Linked DNA regions of Homo sapiens: regions 1, 3, 4 and 5 are each linked to region 2. Evidence: promoter capture Hi-C in 16 types of primary human blood cells and fetal thymus (Javierre and others, 2016). All regions are on one chromosome and are shown on one strand. Each heading gives the region's core, a stretch centred on a gene start or on the middle of the fragment in contact. The rest is flanking DNA. Distances are from core to core; before and after follow the strand shown.

What was found. Contacts are between HindIII fragments. The CHiCAGO score rates a contact against its expected background, and 5 or more counts as called.
Region 1: a contact is called between a fragment that was not itself captured here and the fragment with the promoter of SENP1 in region 2, in 11 of 17 cell types (erythroblasts, M1 macrophages, M2 macrophages and 8 more). The highest score is 9.8, in erythroblasts.
Region 3: a fragment that was not itself captured here is called in contact with the fragment with the promoter of SENP1 in region 2 in 2 of 17 cell types (M1 macrophages and M0 macrophages); the score reaches 8.4 in M1 macrophages.
Region 4: the fragment with the promoter of DDX23 here is called in contact with the fragment with the promoter of SENP1 in region 2 in 13 of 17 cell types (erythroblasts, neutrophils, M2 macrophages and 10 more); the score reaches 16.3 in erythroblasts.
Region 5: a fragment that was not itself captured here is called in contact with the fragment with the promoter of SENP1 in region 2 in 1 of 17 cell types (erythroblasts); the score reaches 6.1 in erythroblasts.

Annotation. Positions count from the first base shown.
Region 1 is chr12:48,676,219-48,679,022 of GRCh38, reverse strand. All of the region lies in intron 4 of KANSL2 (KAT8 regulatory NSL complex subunit 2), which reads left to right. Among named protein-coding and RNA genes, the nearest start is that of KANSL2, 4.6 kb to the left of the region's middle. The HindIII fragment of the contact is 1,630 bases long and covers 680-2,309 here.
Region 2 is chr12:48,104,796-48,107,605 of GRCh38, reverse strand. It overlaps SENP1 (SUMO specific peptidase 1), which reads left to right and starts at 1,527. Exons shown (of 18, transcript NM_001267594.2): 1 at 1,527-1,578. It also overlaps a transcript of PFKM not described here. RefSeq lists enhancers at 781-1,654, 1,940-2,149, 1,655-2,530 and a silencer at 1,660-1,799. The HindIII fragment of the contact is 3,654 bases long and covers 790-2,810 here.
Region 3 is chr12:48,624,832-48,627,531 of GRCh38, reverse strand. No RefSeq gene overlaps it. Among named protein-coding and RNA genes, the nearest start is that of SNORA2C, 28 kb to the left of the region's middle. The HindIII fragment of the contact is 702 bases long and covers 1,006-1,707 here.
Region 4 is chr12:48,850,832-48,853,575 of GRCh38, reverse strand. DDX23 (DEAD-box helicase 23) reads left to right here and starts at 1,413. Exons shown (of 17, transcript NM_004818.3): 1 at 1,413-1,492. It overlaps LOC105369755 (a long non-coding RNA gene), which reads right to left and starts at 1,855. Exons shown (of 2, transcript XR_944925.3): 1 at 1,762-1,855; 2 at 1,027-1,526. RefSeq lists enhancers at 279-488, 1,368-1,557. The HindIII fragment of the contact is 5,632 bases long and covers 1-2,744 here.
Region 5 is chr12:48,658,739-48,661,438 of GRCh38, reverse strand. KANSL2 (KAT8 regulatory NSL complex subunit 2) reads left to right here. Exons shown (of 10, transcript NM_017822.4): 8 at 820-1,073. Among named protein-coding and RNA genes, the nearest start is that of SNORA2A, 3.3 kb to the right of the region's middle. The HindIII fragment of the contact is 6,321 bases long and covers 1-2,700 here.

The DNA.
Region 1 (2,804 bases), core at 245-2,744, 570 kb before region 2:
CCACATAAGGCATTTGAAATGTAGTTAGTATGTGGAATGTAGTGCTGCATGCTGTTAATAAATTAGTAACCTAGGAGGGTTGAAGACAGCTATTTGTCAGCAGTAAGAGGTTCTGTATATAAAAGTGGCATGGTTCATTGTCGTCTTGCTTCAAGGCAGGATGATTCTTTTTTAGAAGCCTTGTAATTTAAAAAAAGTTTGAACACCAAATTCTACGTATGAGAAAGTATAGGGGAGAAAACAGGAAATTTAGACATGGGAGTGTGGGAGGTGGATTGAGAAATGGTCAGACCAGTTTAGAGAAGAGAAAATGGTTGTGAATGGGTGCTTGGCCTAAACCTCAGGAATAATGTGATTGTAGTTGAATACTTCTGCAAAATGTCGTGTTTATGGGATTTATAAATTTTTTAAAGTTATATATTGTTTTAAATTGACAATTGTACAATGTATGGGGTACAGTGTGATGTTTGGATACTTGTAAACCTTGTGTCATGATCAAATCAGGGTAATTAGCATATTCATCAGCTCAAGCATTTAGTGTTTTTTTGTGTGTGGATTTTTTTTTTAAAAAGAAGAATAAAAAGGTATTCAAGAGTTTGGTTTCATGCCTAAGAAAGAGAAACCGATTTAGAAACCCAAAAGTGATTATATCTTAATCAGGTTTATATCTTAGTAAGCTTCTGCTCTTCACTTAACCCATCATCACCGTAGGAGTTGTAGAAGCATAAAAACATTACCACTCTGGAGTCTCATATTTCTGTGTCTCAAGGTCTGGGTGTAGTTTTTAAAAATGTTTGCCTGCTGACTTCTGTGTCTTAACACTTTGTACTGACAGTTTATGTAAAGGGACTGTAAATAGTGGAAGGGGTAATTTCTAGATTGACTATTGGGCTTTTGTTCTTGCAATAGCATTTTCTTCATTACTTTGGATTCTTTGGTTTATAAGAAGTCATTTAGGGTTACATTTTCTCCTGACCCTGCTTAGCTTCTGAGATCAGAGGAGGTTGGGCATGTTCCGGATAGTATGGCCGTATGTTAGGGTTACGTTTTCTGAGTAGAATAATTTCATCCATTTCTATTGAGTAATCTCACTGTGGTCAACTATTCAGGAAGTACTAGTTTAGAAAACCCATCTAAGTAGTTGGAAAGGGAATGACTGTTCTCTTGCAGGATTCTCTCACAAATAGTAACTTAAACCAACATATTCATTCCTTTTTTTTTTTTTTTTTTTTTTTTTTGAGATGGAGTCTTGCACTGTCACCCAGGCTGGAGTGCAGTGGCATGATCTCAGTTCACTGCAACCTCCGCCTCCCAGGTTCAAGCAATTCTCCTGCCTCAGCCTCCCTCCCAAGTAGCTGGGATTATAGGCACCCACCACCACACCCAGGTAATTTTTTGTATTTTTAGTAGAGATGGGGTTTCACCATGTTGGCCAGGCTGGTCTCGAATTCCTGACCTCGTGATTCACCTGCCTCGGCCTCCCAAAGTGCTGGGATTACAGGCATGAGCCATCAGGCCCAGCTTCATTCCTTTTTTTTCCATTGTGGTTCTAGATGGCCAAACTTGCTGCTTTGAAGAGATGTATGCTCTCTAGGGTTACAAAGGGAGTGTCGTTTGGTGTGGTAAACACTCAGCTTAAGGTCGAGAAACTTGATTTTGTTAGTAATCTAGAGTGGATCAGTCTCTAGGAGGCACATGGATGCTGATTTAACTTACAGGAGGCTGCTGTATAAACCAAAATACCAGGTCATTTTATGAGAAATACAAATGTGGAAAGTACTAGGCAGTTGATGTCACTCTCTCCTAGAGGAAACATGTTCAGAAGAGAAAATAAAGCCCCAAATATGGTCAGCTATTAGGCAACTAAGTATAAGGCTTTCGTTAATTTTCCTCAGTGAGATTATTTTTTAAAAAAATTTAGACCCACTAAATTTATGCATTTTTAGGCATGTAAATAGAGTTGTTCAGTGTCTCCTTATGATTACATATTACTATCTTCTTATATTTAATAATATAGTAATTTAGTAGTATGTCCACTGAGTAAAATTCTTTTCATTAAGAATTTTTATCTTAGGGCACCAGTGTCTTTGTCATCAATAGGATCACTTTTTGAATCATCTAATAGTTTAACCACATTTATCTTCAATTGCTTGTTACACAAAGGGCAATTTTATATTGTTTATGATGTTGCTAGAGACTTGATCCTAACTAGAATATTGTTGGCATAGATTTTTTAAACTTCCTGTTAGTATATATATGATTTCCCTCAAAGTAACCACTTACTTAATTGTTTTGTTAAAAGTAAAGCTTGTTTATGGCCAGGCGTAGTGACTTACGCATGTAATCCTCGCACTTTTTTTTTTTGACACGAAGTTTCACTCTTGTCACCCAGGCTGGAGTGCAATGGTGCGATCTCAGCTCACTGCAACCTCCGCCTCCCGGGTTCAAATGATTTTCCTGCCTCAGCCTCCCGAGTAGCTGGGATTACAGGTGCCCGCCACCACACCCAGCTGATTTTTGTGTTTTTAGTAGAGACGGGGTTTCTCCATGTTGGCAGGCTGGTCTTGAACTCCTGATCTGAGGTGATCTGCCCGTCAGCCTCCCAAAGTGCTGGGATTACAGGGACGAACCAGTGCGCCCAGTGATCCTAGCACTTTGGGAGGTCGAGGTGGGAGGATTGCTTGAGCCCAGGAGTTCGAGACCAGCCTGGGCAACATAGGGAGACACCGTCTCTACGAAAGATTTAAAAATTAGCCAGACGTGGTGGTGCACGTGGTCTGTAGTCTTAACTACTCGAGAGGCTC
Region 2 (2,810 bases), core at 278-2,777:
CAATATTTTATCAAAGTGAGAATGTGATAAACAAGGTCAGTTGACCCCTAAAATCCGTATTTACACTAGAAAGCCTCACATCCTGTATTTAGACTTCTTGTGAGAGAACCCATTCTCTGTCACTGGAGTATGATCAGGAGACAAGGGTACCTGTTCTCTGAGGAGTCCTGACTAACTGGCGAGACTGAATCACACACATGAAAAATTTCAGATGAAACTCGTCTTTATGCATGGCTGCCTCCTAGAAATAGAGACAGAGTTTAATCCAAACGAACAGAGCTGTGAAATAAGATGTCAGTGACTGACATGGACCAGCTACACTCATGACTACTTGGCCTTAGGACTTGACAATATAATATAAAAGTATCAGCACATGAGGCAATACAAATAATCTACTTTGATGTATTTGACAGGGGAGGAAACCCTGAACTCAGCAAGCTGCTGAGAGTATCAGAAAGGCTGGGGGCCTCCAGAAACTGCCCTTCTTTAAGTCTGAGCTCAGACTGTGCCTGTGGCTGTGATCTGGGTGTAAAGGACCTATTAAGGGGGCATTTCTCTAAGACTTCTACAGGGCCTGGGTCCAGAGGCCTGCCAAGCTGAGGTGCTTGACAAAAAGCCTGAATGAACAAACATATTTCTTCCCATTATGTTCTCTTAGAAAGTATGGCAGATTCCAGGTTAATCAATGTGTCCCAGGAACAACAAAGCCCTTCAAAGGTCACAGGTGATTCCTGGGTCCTTCTCTATCTCTACCCAGAAAAGCAGATCTCTAGTGGGCTCCCAAAAGCTTTCCTCACAGCTCTGCCTGTTTCAAATTCCTCCAGAGTTCTGGAAGGTTCTACATCTTGCCAGAGTCTAGCCTAATCCGTCCTCAAGTTGCTTGTTTGTTTGTTTGTTTGCTTGCTGAATGGTCAATCAAGTATGAGGTGGTGCAGAGTACAGGATTGCAAGTTAAGAAACTTGTTTCCTAGTCCTAGATGGGCCGTGCACTTAAAACCTTTGGGAAATCACTTCACTTCTCTGAACCTGGTAAGACTAAAGTATCTCCAATAACCTCTACAAGCACTAACGTTCTGTGATTCTCAATAAAACACGAGATAGCCTGAGATCGATTTAGATCTCAGGTCCCTATCTGTCGGGGGAAGCCACAGGTTTCCGCAGATTTAGGGCCACCGCGAAAAGCTGCCATGGAAACTGGAACGCAAGCAAGCAAAACTCGCCGGGCGGAACCAGAAGGCGGCGGGTAAGGGAGCAGAGGGAACAGAGAAAAGCATAGGACGAAGGGCTCACTAACAGTATTCCGAGTACGAGAAAGCGAAAAAGCCCAGACTGAAAAGGGTACTGAGAAATTACGACTAGTCTTAAATGCTCCCTTCGCTTCTCGGGCCTCGCCACACCGCGCAGGCGCCCCACTGGTCCTTAACTCTGTTCTTTGACCTCCTGCCCCAGCCCCCTCCTCTTCAGCCACCTAGCGACTCTTCCGGTGCTGTGAAGGCGGTTCCGGTTCGCGGCGGTTCCCGGGTTTTGCGTTCCGCGCCCGGCCGGAAACCCCTTCGCATGGCAGCCGGTTCCGGTTCGGTGAGTGGCGGCGGGAAGCTGGGGGAGGGGTGAGGATGGAGGGAGCCTGGTCCAGGAGACTGTGTCGGACCCGGTCAGCCGGCCCGGGCTGGACTGGGCGGAAGCGGGGAGCACTGTGGGGCCGGCGCCTTTTCCTCTGCCCCGCCCCCTGGGACCACCTCCCCTCCCCCCTGCTGTCCGGTGGCCGCGCTGTGGCCGCCGGTGGCCGTTAGGCTACCTGAGGCCGTTCCTTCTGGTCTCTCTCTCCTGGGCCGCGGAGAGACCGTCTCCCTGCCGTTACAGCAGGCCCCATCCCAGCGCCCAGCCGTACTTGGGGAAAGGCCGGTTGCGATTCCGGGGCTTTCCCGCCAGAGCTGGGTCTTCTCTGGGGAGAGCTGTTTTCACCGGGAAGCTCGGCTTTCTGTGGTACCGGCTTCATCTCCCGCCTTCCTTGAGACCCGAGTGATATTTCTTGACTACTTCTGCGTCTCACGTAAACATTTCTCCAACTCTCCTACTCTGTGGTATCTCCCTGAGATGTGATATCGCTAGTGCCACCATCAGAAAGAAACGTCTGGACCCTCCTGCTCAGGTTATGAAAATCCCCTTAACTGCCACAATTTGCTTACCTGGCTCATCGCCTCCTGGTAATTCCCTTGAACCGTCTCTTTCTTGGTGTACCCTAACGTGATCTCTGGATCTATGCCTCGTTTCTCTTTCCTTGAGCTTGGTGATTTCTGTTTATCGGTGCCTGTGCAGTATTTCCACTATCTTGTTAGCAGTAACTTGCTTCTTTATCACTTTCAAGTCAGCCTTGTTAAAGTCATTTTACTTCATATTTGGTACACTTATTATATTTGGAGTGGTGGTGATTCTTGTAATATTCATATAAAGCCTTTTATCTACTACCAACTATTTGACTGAGGGTCTTTGTTATAATTGGTTATTCTGGATGTATTAGATCTCATCATCTCCTAAATCTTTATTCTTCATAAAAATAATTTGTGTTAAGGACTCATGTTGAAATACAGATTACCCTGACTTTGAAATTACAGTTAAAGCGCAACTTTAAGCATCTCTATAAGCATGATCCCTTAACCTACTTCCAGTTTACACTCTACCACCCTTTATTTTTCCTCTCTAGTCCCTTTTAGGAAGGCTTATTCATTTTTAACTGACTTCAATTAATTATCCCAACTGCAAAGATGGTCTTCATGTCACTCATCTAATGAGTTGTCTAGAGGGAGTGGATG
Region 3 (2,700 bases), core at 107-2,606, 520 kb before region 2:
GATCACAGCTCACTACAGCCTCGACTTCCTGGGCTCAAGCCATCCTCCCACCTCAGCCTCCCAAGTAGCTGGGACTACAAGCACATGCCACCATGCCTGGCTACTTAAAAAAAAATTTAACAGAAATGAAGTCTCCCTATATCGTCCAGGCTGGTCTCAAATTTCTGCGCTCAAGCGATCCTCCCAAAGTTCTGGGATTATAGGCGTGAGCCACTGCATCTGGCCCCAAACGTTTTTTAAGTGATAGAAATGTCAAAATTAGAGAGCAGCATAATGTTCTTCCAATCCGCAGGGAGCTATTTACCTGGAGGTCCCGGCTGGGCACCAACAGGAGGACCACAGCTGGTGAACTGTGGAAGGGTAGGAGGCGTGCGCATCGCCTCTAGGAGAGTTGGTCCTACTCTGAAGTCATGCACGTTCCTGAGGCTGCCACTCATCTCAGACTATTTTTTCTTTCCAAGAAAATGAGACTTGGAAATCCAGATGAGCAATCTATATCATCTATTCAGCAAGATATGCAACACAGAAAGATCTGAATTAACCCAGATCCCACCCCCCTGGGAAACCACTCTTTCTCTTTGGACAGGTGGCCTGGTGACCCTTGGTAAAGCCATTTCCACACTTTGCCCAGTCTCCGATCAGTTTGTTGGAAACTGGAAACACTCTATTTATCTTGGTTCTCCTGCCTTGTATTTTCCATACAGGTCAAATGCTCAGTTTATCTTAACTAACTGTGGGTTCTTTAGAAACTTCTCTTCTGGCGTAGGTTTCCTTCTCTCAGTTATTGCAGCACTACCTTTCCACCAAACACATAGGAAGACTTTGTGGAATGAATAAATAAATTAATATATGAATTCATTACAATAATTTTCCAAAAGCAAATTGCCATGAAAAAATTGCACCATCTGACAGTTAACGCTAGAGTCAAAGAGACATTTAAATGACTACTAAAATAGAGGAGGAATCATTGGGTCATCCCCTACAGTTGAGGGAATATTGGAAGCTTGGGATGGAATCATAAATAAGAATGGATATGGAAGTCAAAAATATGTGTGTGCGTAGGAGGAAGAAACCAGAAAGCCCAATGTGATAGTTTTCTCACTTTTGAAGTTAAGAAAGGCGACATCTCACATTAGCCGATGGCAGTGAGAACACAGGGTTTTTCTGTTCCTGGCCTGATCCTACGTTTTCCTTTGGCTTTGGGCTTACATCATGCAGACCCACATTCAGTCATATGGGGATACAGACATGGAACAAACTGAATGCTTTCATATGTATTTGAACATATTCTGTCTTCTATATACTAATGATTTCTTAAAGAGCCAAGGAGTGACTTGAATTGAGAGTGAAATAGGACTCTGGGTTTAGCAGAAAGAGGGAGCAAAGGAAGAAACTAGTTAAACTAACCAAATCAACCAACCAGTCAACTGACCCGAAACTTCTGAAGTCTACACTCTGAGCCAATGCTTATGATTATAAAGTTAGAAGCACTGCCCTTGCCAACCAATGAATTTGACCTTGGTTCCTGGTAAAATTCCTAAATAGATGCTATGTAGAATAGTTGGAAGTCCCATAAGGGATCACCAGGATCTTTGTAATGCTGAACCTAATGTAAAACCTCATAATAATATCTTTTATTGACAGTACTAATAATTTAACAATCAGGAGAAAGGAGCAGAGAAAGGGCATGTTAATCTCAGTAAAGCTTCATAAAAAGATGATGACTGTGTGCTTAGAGATAACGCTTTTTTAGCCTGGTGCAGTGGCTCACGCCTGTAATCCCACCACTTTGGGAGGCCGAGGCAGGCGGATCACGAGGTCAGGAGTTCAAGACCAGTCTGACCAACATAGTGAAACCCTGTCTCTACTAAAAATACACAAAAAATTAACCAGGTGTGGTGGTGTGCGCCTGTAATCCCAGCTACTCAGGAGGCTGAGGCAGGAGAATGGCGTGAACCTGGGAGGCGGAGGTTGCAGTGAGCCAAGATCGTGCCAATGCACTCCAGCCTGGGCGACAGAACGAGACTCTGTCTCAAAAAAGAAAAAAAGAAAAAAGATAACGCTTTTAGTTTGGCTACCATACACCAAAATTATTCATTAATGACTAAAAATCTGGAGAAATCTGTCTAGTGAAAAGGAGAATGTGTTGTAGATCTTATCTTCGTCACCTATTTTAGCAATGACTTCAATAGGCATAGTAAGCATGCATGGCTCATCAAACTTCAGATGATATGAAACAAAGAGGGAAAATCAATATTGTAAGCAACAATTATAATTCAAAATAATCTTGCCTTTTGGAATGCCAAACTAAAAACAAGACGGAATTTAACAGAGGCACATATAAAATCTGCATGTAGATTTTAACAACCGGTTACACAAGCATAGGAAGGGTAAGACCCAACTTAGTAGCCAATTATGTGAAAATAATTTGGGCTTTTTGTTGACTATCATGAATTTTTTCTTTTTTTTTTTTTTTGAGATGGATTCTGGCTCTGTCGCCCAGGCTAGAGTGCAGGGTTATGATTTCAGCTCACTGCAACCTCCACCTCCCAGGCTCAACTGATTCTCCTGCCTCAGCCTCCCAAGCAGCTGGAACTGCAGGTGCCCAACACCGAGCCCGGCTACTTTTTTGTATTTTCAGTAGAGACGGGGTTTCACCGTGTTAGCCAGGATGGTCTCCATCTCCTGACCTCGTGATCT
Region 4 (2,744 bases), core at 164-2,663, 750 kb before region 2:
AGTAAAACAAATAAGGTAGGTTAAGTGTCCAGCCCAGAGCTGAGCACTTAGAAGATTCTCAATAAAAAGTGGCTGCAGTTTTTGAAGATTCTGGCCTACCATGGTTGGTCTGATTCTTAGTTTAATCTGTGAATCTGTGAGTCGAGCGCCCTCTCGTGCTTTTGTGGTGAATTACACCTAACAGATCTCAGAGCTCTCTTCTTTCCCTTGCGTTCTCTCTGGAGTAGAAGCTGGGAGGTGAAAGGCTGCAGGTTCTAAGAGAAGTGTGTGTCTCCGAGGGTTACTTTGGGCCATTGTACGTGATGCTCAGGGCTTTAGGATTACTTGGGTCTATCCTGAGGCTCTGCTTGAGAGCTTGGGCATATTCAGAGAGAAAAGGCAGACCTACAGCCATGTGGAATTGAAGCAACAAACCTGCTGCTGGCAAAATGGGAAGGGAGGTCCGAGATACTTCTGGTTATCTAAACCGTTTCCGCAACTGCAATGTTTTGTTTTGTTTTGAGGGAAAGAGTTATGAACCCATAAGACCAAAGAGAAACACAAAGTGAACTTACGATTTGAGGTTAAAACAACAACAACAACATCAACAACAACAACAACAGCAACAACAAAACTCAGTGGAAGACTGAAGTAGGGGAATCTGGGGGAAGAAAGAAGCAAAAATACCAAGATAGCTCAACAATTGGTCACATTCCAAAGGGCAAGAAATTGAGGAAACCAGGGTTCCATCTGGAATGTTGAGAAAACAGGTGCTAGAGCCCAGGAGATACCATCCTTCCGGGAGGACTTTAGAGCCCATTGTGTGGGCTCATTTGGAGCTGTAACAATAACTGGGGGTTGTTATGGCATTCACCCGGCTGCAGGGGCCAAGGTTGCTAAAACGTCCTCCTAAGCCTGGGATAGTTCCACACACAATGGAGAACTGCATCACCCTCCTTGTGAACCTACTCCGGTAACCTGATCTTTAGTTTGTCCAACTGTAAAATGGGGCTAGCCCCATTCTCACAGAATTATTATAAAAACCGCTTTTCCACGAATGGTATTTATTGTTACTGCGGTTGTTAGCTATAATTACGTACTACAGATATCTCAGGAAGCCCTTAAATTCCTCCACTGTAAGCCACGGGCAAGGACAGTCATAGACCGTAGTTTCTAGGAAGACCAGCCGATTCCAAGAAGGGTGCTCGGCGGGAGAACCTAATGCCGAAAGCCTATTGGCGAAAAACTCTTCCTTCCCGGACGCTAACGTCTGGCAAACCACATTGCCCGGCAGACCCCGCAGCCTGGGGCCGGCGCTCAAGTCATGCATTCTGGGATTGGTAGTTTCCAGGCCTCAGTGTCGGCCTGTGCCGCCCAGCTCCAGGAACTCGCCTTCCCAGCTTGCCTCGCGGCCGGGGGGGTGGGGGGTGTTCATCTCCGCGACCAGGAAACGGGAAAGATGGCGACGGCTCCGCGACGTTGAGGCCGCGTTGGGCGGTTCAGACTCAGGGTGGTGAGTCCCGGGCGGTGGAGGCGGTTCCCACGAGCTTACAGAAAGGGCTAGAGTCAGGGCACGGCGGTGGCCCCTGCCTCCTGGATGAGGCGGGAAAGAACGCCTCAGAGAAGGGGCATGAACCCGGGAAGCTCGGGCGGGCTGGAGTGAAGGGGCGCGGGCCCCAGGGGTAGTGTTGGCTCCTCCGGGCACAGGCCACGTCCCTGCACGATATTTTCCTCCCAGGACTCTGCCTATGGGCACAGCGCCTCTGATACCCCCAGTCTGACCTTATTCTTTCATGCTTAAAGTAGCCTTTGGTGCAGCCAAACTGGAACTCTGGCTTTTCTCTCGCAGTCAGTCCATGTTTTCCCGCCTCTGCGCCGGCCGTATTATTTCTTTTGCCGGGAATGACTTCTTTTCCGCGTCCTTAATTACATATCTTAAAATTCTACTTATACTTAAAAGCTCAAGCGTCACTTCCTCTTCCAAGCCTTCCACATCACCTTTTACAAGTGAAAGGAAACGCCTTTGAACACCTGTATTACTACATCTGAGCCTTGATACTCTTCTTGGTATGTGTCTCATACCCCCTATTGTTCTTTTTTTTCTTTTCTTTTCTTTTTTTTTTTGAGACGGAGTCTCGCTCTGTCGCCTAGGCTGGAGTGCAATGGCACGATCTTGGTTCTCTGCAACCTCCGCCTCCCGGGTTCAAGCGATTCTCCTGTCTCAGCCTCCCGAGTAGCTGTGATTACAGGCGCACGCCGCCACGCCCGGCTAATTTTTTGTATTTTTAGTAGAGACGGGGTTTCACCGTGTTCCCCAGGCTGGTCTCGAACTCCTGAGCTCAGGCAATCCACCTGTCTCGGCCTCTTAAAGTGTTAGGATTACATGCGTGAGCCACCGCGTCCGACCTCATAACCCTGTTGTTCTAAACACTTCCTGTGAACAGAATTTATTTTTGTAACTCACATAGCACCTAGCACTGTGCCTTGCGTACAGTAGATGCTTGTTAAATACGTCATTGAGTGAAAAAAAAGAATGTGCCCCTGCCCTGCAAGAACTGAGGACCTGAAGATCTGGAGGTTTGAGAGGAAGGCTGCTGGGAAGCATGGCCAGAGTCAGCCTGGTTATTTGGCCCTTGTGATAATAGAACCTGTAATAAAAGTTGCCTGTATTTACTGTCTTCTTCTCATTTTTCATTCTCTTCCAAACTCATTCCACTCAGGCTTCCATTCCCGCAATGCAACTGAAACAGCTCTTGTCAAGGTCA
Region 5 (2,700 bases), core at 71-2,570, 550 kb before region 2:
AAAGTAACTTGAATTTTATTGTATCTAATCATCTCAATTTTGGTTCATCCTACAGAGCTTCTTTGCTAACTTGGAAATATAGCCCTTTTCTTCTTCTACCTTTAACAAAAGTTGTTAATAGAGTCCTTGGAATGTTTCTAGAATACTTTTTTTTTTCAATGGGCCTTCATACACAAAATTTTCTTCTTCCTTTAGGATCATAAAAGGATTCCTCTGTACTAGCACACTCCCCTAAAAAAAAAAGGCATGTATATTTAATTTCTTGTTAGGATATGATACCTAGTGACTTTTACTAGAGCTCTGTTTCCCCCTATTCCAGTGGTGCTTTAAATGAATTTATCATGTAATCATCTTTGGAAACGAGGTCCAAGAAATTGTTGCAAACTTTGCCAGTCTGCTAAGGGAGCAGAGACATTGTATCGCTTGACTCTTTTGGAAGGGCTGTTTAGGGGCATTTTCAAGGCTATTTGCATTTGCCACTACATGTTTCTTCTGAATATGTGTGTGTTCCTAGGAGTGTTACTGCTACTTGCTTAAGGGAGAATGGGATGGTGTCTAGTTTAAATGACCAGGATCCTGAAAAGGAGGTTGGGGACAAGTTTTAAATTACTGGTAGAGCTAGAATTTGATGCTAGTAAATGACATTTATTTTGAGAAGTAACTTTAAAAATTGCTAACTGCATTTGGTATTCTGTATCAAATGTAGTTGTAATTTATCTTATATAGTCCACACCTTGAGTTTTATGTGGCAGACAATGCTATTTGTATTTTATGCTTTCGATAGATTGTGTTTTATTTCCCTTGACCATTTTTCTACAGATATTTGTCAGGATACGAATCAGGTTCTCTTCAAGTGCTGCCAGGGATCTGAAGAGGTACCCTGCAACAAACCTGTTCCTGTAAGCCTCTCTGAGGATCCCTGCTGCCCACTGCATTTCCAGTTGCCTCCTCAGATGTATAAGCCCGAGCAGGTACTGTCTGTGCCAGACGATCTGGAAGCCGGCCCCATGGATCTGTACTTGAGTGCTGCTGAGCTTCAGCCCACTGAGAGTTTACCTCTGGAGTTCAGTGATGTAAGTTAGAGAAGCTCTGCTTTGGTTCAGGCCCTTGAGACAAAGCCTTATTTATTAATGGTGAGAATAGGTTAGTCTTTGTGGTTAGGAGAATCGACAAAGTTTTTGAAGTGATATATACGTATAGTTGTATTTATATGTTAGCATATTCATTTAGAGAAATCTACCCTACCTTATATTTTTTTCCAGACTCTTCCCATACCTTTTTAGGGATACAATTTACATACTATAAATTGCACTCTTTGAAAGTGTATAATTGAGTGATTTTTAGTATATTCGCAAAGTTACGCAACTACCACCACTATCTAATTTCAGAAGGTTTTCACCATCTCCAAAAGAAACTCAGTACCTATTATGACACTCTTCATTTTCTTCTCCCCTCAGCCCCTGGCCACGATGAATCTACTTTTTGTCTCTGATTTTGCTTATTCTGGACATTTCATATCAATGTAATAGTATATGTATCCTTTTGTGTCTTGCTTGTTTCACTTAGCATAATGTTTTCAAGGTTTATCCATACTATAATATGTATCAATACTTCATTCCTTTTTGTGACTGAATTAATATTCCATTGTTTGGAAATACCACGCTTTAAAAATATATCAGTTGATGGATATTTGTGCTGTTTCTACTTTCTGGCTATTAAGGAATATACTGTTAAGAACTTTTGAGACAGAGTTTCTGTCGGTGGCATGAGCCACCACGCCCAGCTTAGTTATCATTTTTATAACTTTTTTTTTTTTAAATTGGGGTCTTGCTCTGTTGCTCAGGCTGGAGTGCAGTGGCATGATCATGGCTCCGTGCAGCCTCGAACTCCTGGGCTTAAGTGATCCTCCTGTCTCAGCCTCCCAAGTAGCTGGGACTATAGGTTTATGCCACCATGCCCAGCCAATTTTTTATTTTTTGTATAGATGAGATCTCCCTATGTTGCATGGGCTGGTCTTCAACTCCTAGGCTCAAGTGATCCTCTTACCTTGGCCTCAAGTGATCCTCTTACCTTGGCCTCCCAAAGTGCTGGGATTACAAGTGTGAACCACTGTGCCTGGCCACTATAACTTGGCTTTTTTTTTTTTAGACTGAGTCTTGTTCTGTTGTTCAAGCTGGAGTGCAGTGATGTGATCTCAGCTCACTGCAGCCTCTGCCTTCAGGGTTCAAGTGATTCTTGTGCTTCACCCTCCTGGGTAGCTGGGACTACAGGTGTGCGCCAGCAGGCCTTGCTGATTTTTGTATTTTTTGTAGAGACAGGGTTTCACCATGTTGGCCAGGCTGGTCTCTAACTCCTGGCCTCAAGTGACCCACCCACCTTGGCCTCCCAAAGTGCTGGGATTATAGGCATGATTCACCATTCCTGGCGTATAACTGTTAATGATAACTTTGGTGATTTTACTTGCGGGAAGACTAGGCATCAGATATTAATATGAGTAAAAACACAGCCGTTCATTCTGGATATTTGCTTGTTTTCTGTGCTTTGATGCAAGGATGGTTGGCAAGTAGTAACTTAACACCTTAATCTTACTACTTTTGAGTTCCTTCTCTCTCATTCTCTATTGCTGGTTTTGGAGATAGTAACAAAACGTGGATTCTCTTATTTTATCTTTATTTATTTTTTGAGACGGAGTCTTGGTCT